Regions from separate parts of the Homo sapiens genome. Here region 1 is linked to region 2. Evidence: promoter capture Hi-C in 16 types of primary human blood cells and fetal thymus (Javierre and others, 2016). All regions are on one chromosome and are shown on one strand. Each heading gives the region's core, a stretch centred on a gene start or on the middle of the fragment in contact. The rest is flanking DNA. Distances are from core to core; before and after follow the strand shown. Region 1 has its middle 14 kb from the start of MRPL55. Region 2 holds the start of H3-4 (H3.4 histone, cluster member).

Region 1 (2,700 bases), core at 85-2,584, 300 kb before region 2:
AGTCTTTTTGGGGTGTTTATGGAGGCTTCATTACTTAGGCATGATTGACTAAATCACTGGCCATAGGTACTCAGTTTAACCTTCAGTCCCTTTCCCCTCCCCAGACATGGGGAGGTGGGGATGAGGCTGAAAATTCCAATCCTGCCTTGATCTTTTCAGTGACCAGCCCCATTCTGAAGCTACCTAGGGGCTGCCAGCCACCAGCCAACTCATTAGCATACAAAAAATCACTTACTTATAGAGATTTCAAGGACTTCAGGTGTTGTATGCCAGGAAAGACCTTTCACCCTCAAGATTTGCTGAAAATCATCTGACAAAACAGCGATGAATATATATGACACACAAATTTATTAATATGATGGGAGAAAATCTCAGAGTGACTACCCCACCACTGAGTGGGGTACAGATGGTTACTTGCCCTTAAGGGCAAGGGAGATGGGGAAGCATAAATGATTTTAGGAGCTCAGTAAATGATTTTTAGGGGAGTTCAATGGGCTTGAAGAACATACAATGGCCTCCACGAAGTCTGTTGGGCTCAGAGGGTAGACGGTGGTTTGTGACATCTGTCCAGGTGGACTGACTTCAGACTTTCTCCCTGCAATATGAATTCAGTTAATAAAAACTCAGGGAAGGGACCAGAGATAATTGTTTCCTTCTTTAGGCAGATAAGGGAGCTTCAGAGAACAACTTTATCCTGTGCTTTGGGAGAGACAGAGAATTGGGAGACATGAGGTGGGGAAGGTCAGAGAGACCTTGCAGCTTCTTCATTTCTGCATGTCAAAGCGCCATATTTTGGGGATATCTGTTTCTGAGCCCCCAAAATGGAGACAAAGCCTAAATATGTATATTTCACAATATCATACATGCATACCTTTGGTTGCAATCTTTTGCTATTCTCAAATAAAATGTTTTCTTTTAGGAAGCCAGTCTTTCTAAGGCTGACAACCCAAGGGGGTGGCATGGGTTGACTTAAGCCAGGCCTGCACAGTGGTGACCTAAGTCACTGCAGGGGCAAGTGGGGTGGGCCAGTGCAGAGCTGTGACATAAGCAGGTGACTTTCCCTATCAGAACTTTCAGTTAAGTCACTTCCATGGAAGAAGGGGCTCTTCTATGAAGAGCCTCTGTAACAGTACTGACTCCATGTTAGAGGAAAGCTTGCTTGCTTGAATACAATTATTGCTTTGCTTGAGTCTTTAGATTATTCACTAAAAACAGCCTCAGAAAAAGAGGACCTTCAACAGAGATTTTTTAAAATGTGCCAACCAACAGCTCTGGGAATGAATTGGCCGGCCTGACCATACCCACAGAAGGCCACAAAGCATTGACCAAGAAGGCAAGGATTAAATGCCCACCTGAGAATGCCCACGTTTCACAAGAATGTTTTCATTATTCTCCCTAATTTCCCTTAAAAACCCCTGATTTAGAAGCATGACTCAGAAAGGTGATCTTTGAACCCTAGTTCACTGCCTTCCCTGGGTTGCTGGCTTCTTGAATAAAGCTAACTTTCCTTTCACCAAAGCTTGTCTCTTGAGTTTTTGCCTTTCAAGCTACAAGTGGCCCAGACCTGAGTTCAGTTACACCTCTGCTAGCAACAGCCAGCACCACCAATGAACAAACACTGCCTGCAATAAGCCCCTGTGAACAGTAATTTATGTTTCAAAATATCTTACATGCACTTACTCTTTTTTGCCTTCAAAAGCTTCCTCTTGCCCCAACCCCTCAAATATGCTTATGGTCCACAAAAGCACATGCATCCCAGATTGCAATTCCTTGGCTATTAGCAAGTAAACTCTTTGTTTTGAGAACTGGTCTCTCTTGCTCATTTTGATACTGTAGGTAGTTAGGCAGACATGAGCAGGGCAGGAGAGGCCCTCCCCCAAACCAGGAATGTCAGACAATCACCAGGTGATAATCAGGCAGTTGCTAAACTGTTGCTTTAAAATAATTGATTGCAGCTGGTGCCAGGGAAAGCTGTGTCCTAATAGATAGATAACACCTGAAGCTGTTAATCAGCAGCTTCCAAATAAGATCTTAGGAGTTGGGTGAGTGGGGTCAAGCATGAGCACTAAGAGGCAAAATGGCAGAGTTTAACTGGTGTATGACCTTCCTCTAGGAACACTCAACTGGTAAGGGAAGAATGCCTCAGATGAGCATGCATACAACTCCAGTAAACACACTGTGCATGTGGCCCCTCCCAAGTGCTGGCAGGCCACTGAGCATGTAGACCGCCCACCCTAAGGGAAGAATCAGGGGAGAAGAGATGCAAGATCTCAGAAACATGCCAATGTATAAGACCCCAAGTCAAAGGTCAAATCGTGCACTTGAATCTCTCAAGTTGCCCTCATGGTCCTCTTTCGAGTGTACTTTACTTCCTTTCGTTCCTGCTCTAGAACTTTTTAATAATAAACTTTCATTCCTGCTCTAAAATTTGCCTTGGTGTGTCAAGAATTCAGGTTGGTGCAGACCCATACAGATTCACCACTGCTAACAATTTCAGGTTGACACAGAAAGGAGGAGCTTTTCCCAGATCGGCAACCTCTGGAACCATATGCAGTACCCACCTGAGTCCATTGCACTCTCAGCTTCCATGAGTAATCTTTATTCTGTGTGGTTTAGTTCTATCTTGTATTCAAACTCCCTTTTGGTTGAACTCTCTGACTTTATTCAGGATTTGTTTCTATTGACACTGCGTCCTTTCTT
Region 2 (2,700 bases), core at 51-2,550:
GTGGCATGATCTTGGCTCACTGCAACCTCCGCCCCCTGGGTTCAAGCAGTTCTCCTGCCTCAGCCTCCCAAGTAGCTGGGATTACAGGTATGCGCCACCAAACCCGGCTAATTTTAGAGATGGGGTTTCACCATGTTGGCCAGGCTGGTCTGGAACTCCTGACCTCAGGTGATACACCCGCCTCGGCCTCCCAAAGTGCTGGGATTACAGGCGTAAGCTGCTATGCTGGTGAAGTAGCTGGACTTCTAACTTAAAATAGGCCAAGATAATACATACTACTTGCTGGCCTTAACAGGAGATGGGCTGTCAAGGCAGAAGACTAGCTGGACTGGTAACCTCACTGGAAACAAGCTGCGTGTACACACACACACACACACGCAGGACTTCTAACCTAATTTGAAAGAGGCTGAGCTGAGAACACACAAGACCAGCCAGCCTTCCAACCTAACTGTAGATAGGCTGAGTTGACACAACTAGCTGGGGTTGCTTACCTAACTGGAGATAGACCAATTAGGCTACCCTCAACACCCCGTCCCCAAAACAGACCAACCATGATTCTTATCTAAACGGATAGGCCAAGTTAGCCCCACACACTACTAGCTGGATTTGTGACTGGAGACAGGCTGAGAGGTAACGCGTGTGAGTAGCTGGCCTCCTAACTGGACAGGGTGAACACAGGATTCACCAGCCTCCCACCCTAATCAGAAGTAGGTAAGCCAGCACAGGCCAGCGGAAGGAACCCCCCGAAACCCAAGAGACTAGCTTGCTACAGCAACTCTTCGACCAGGTGGGTGGCTCTTAAAAGAGCCTTTGGGGTGAACGTTGCGCAACCTCTCAGGTGGCGAGATAGCCCTCCTAGGCCCGCTCCCCGCGGATACGGCGTGCCAGCTGGATGTCCTTAGGCATGATGGTGACCCGTTTGGCATGGATGACACACAGGTTGGTGTCCTCAAACAGCCCCACCAGGTAAGACTCGCACGCCTCCTGCAGCGCCATCACGGCCGAGCTCTGGAAGCGCAGGTCGGTCTTAAAGTCCTGAGCGATCTCGCGCATCAGCCGCTGGAAGGGCAACTTGCGGATTAGCAGCTCAGTGGACTTCTGGTAGCGGCGGATCTCGCGAAGCGCCACCGTGCCGGGCCGGTAGCGGTGCGGCTTCTTCACGCCGCCAGTGGCAGGTGCGCTCTTGCGAGCCACCTTGGTGGCCAGCTGCTTGCGCGGCGCCTTGCCACCCGTTGACTTGCGCGCAGTCTGCTTGGTTCGGGCCATGAATCCGAAACTGTTGGCCCCGCGGTGTCCTCTGCCCAGACCTCAGCGGATTGCTCGCTTTTATAGAGCTTGCCGCGTTCCCATTGGCTGGCCTCAGGTGGCGTGATGGCCCACTGCTCTCTGATTGGCCCACAGGGAACTCCACTCGGGCGCCTCTCCCTTATATTCATGCCTGTTGGTCGTGGCCACCAGAGCTGGCACCAGCATTGTGAAGGGTTGATGCGGGTAGGCCGCGGTGGTGGGGATCATCTCTCTCCAGCACAAGCTTCCTCATGTCTTCTCAGCGCTCCTCTTCTCCCTTCCCCATGACTTGGGTGGCAAGAGCCTTCCAGAAGCCAGCACATGGCATTCCACTTTTTTAAAAAATTAATTTATTTTTTTATTTTTTGAGATGGAGTTTCACTCTTGTTGCCCAGGCTGGAGTGCAATAGCGTGATCTCTGCTTACTGCAACCTCCACCTCCCAGGTTCAAGCGATTCTCCTGCCTCAGCCTCCCGAGTAACTGGAATTACAGGGATTACAGGTGTCCGCCACCATGCCTGGCTAATTTTTTGTGTTTTTAATAGAGATGGGGTTTCACCATATTGGCCAGGCTGGTCTCGAACTCCTGACCTCAGGTGATCCACCCGCCTCGGCCTCCCAAAGTGCTGGGATTACAGGCATGAGCCACCAGGCCCAGCTGGCATTTCACTTTTTTTTTTTTTTTTTTGAGACGGAGTCTCTCTCTGTCGCCCAGGCTGGAGTGCAGTGGCGCAATCCCAGCTCACTGCAAGCTCCGCCTCCCGGGTTCACGCCATTCTCCTGCCTCAGCCTACAGAGTAGCTGGGACTACAGGTGCCCGCCATCATGCCTGGCTAATTTTGTTTTGTATTTTTAGTAGAGACGGGGTTTCACCATGTTAGCCAGGATGGTCTCGATCTCCTGACCTCGTGATCCGCCCGCCTCGGCCTCCCAAAGTGTTGGGATTACAGGCGTGAGCCAGCGTGCCCGGCCGGCATTCCACTTTTACACAGTGACAAAGCTCTGGGATGCAGCCAGAGTTAAAGGAATCTCCCACTTTTTATGACCTGCAAAGAACTCCCTTACCTGTACGGCTTAGATGAGCCTTAGGATTCTGAAGAAGGTAAAGATGTGCCTTTCTGGCATATTGTCTATTTTGAGATAAAGGCACTTAAAAAAAAAAAAGAAGAAGCAGGTGTAGGAAGATCATTCTGAATTTCTTGTTGTTTCTTAAATACAAGAGATGAAATTCCCATATGAAAGATGTTCTCCTTATAGTAAAAGCAAGGGAACGTTCTTATCATCAAGGACGGGAGGTGGAAGCTTCCAAATCTCCTCCAACTCTCAAGTTGAAATTTGATCCCTAAAGTTGGAGCCCAGGGAGGGGGGGGCCAGTGGGAGGTGTGTGGGTCCTGGGGTGTCACCCTCTGAATA

Evidence for each region. Contacts are between HindIII fragments. The CHiCAGO score rates a contact against its expected background, and 5 or more counts as called.
Region 1: a contact is called between a fragment that was not itself captured here and the fragment with the promoter of H3-4 in region 2, in 2 of 17 cell types (erythroblasts and total CD8 T cells). The highest score is 7.1, in erythroblasts.

What each region holds. Positions count from the first base shown.
Region 1 is chr1:228,122,260-228,124,959 of GRCh38, forward strand. No RefSeq gene overlaps it. Among named protein-coding and RNA genes, the nearest start is that of MRPL55, 14 kb to the left of the region's middle. The HindIII fragment of the contact is 365 bases long and covers 1,153-1,517 here.
Region 2 is chr1:228,424,060-228,426,759 of GRCh38, forward strand. It overlaps H3-4 (H3.4 histone, cluster member), which reads right to left and starts at 1,301. Exons shown (of 1, transcript NM_003493.3): 1 at 786-1,301. The coding sequence starts at 1,266. The coding sequence ends at 856. The HindIII fragment of the contact is 2,523 bases long and covers 1-1,529 here.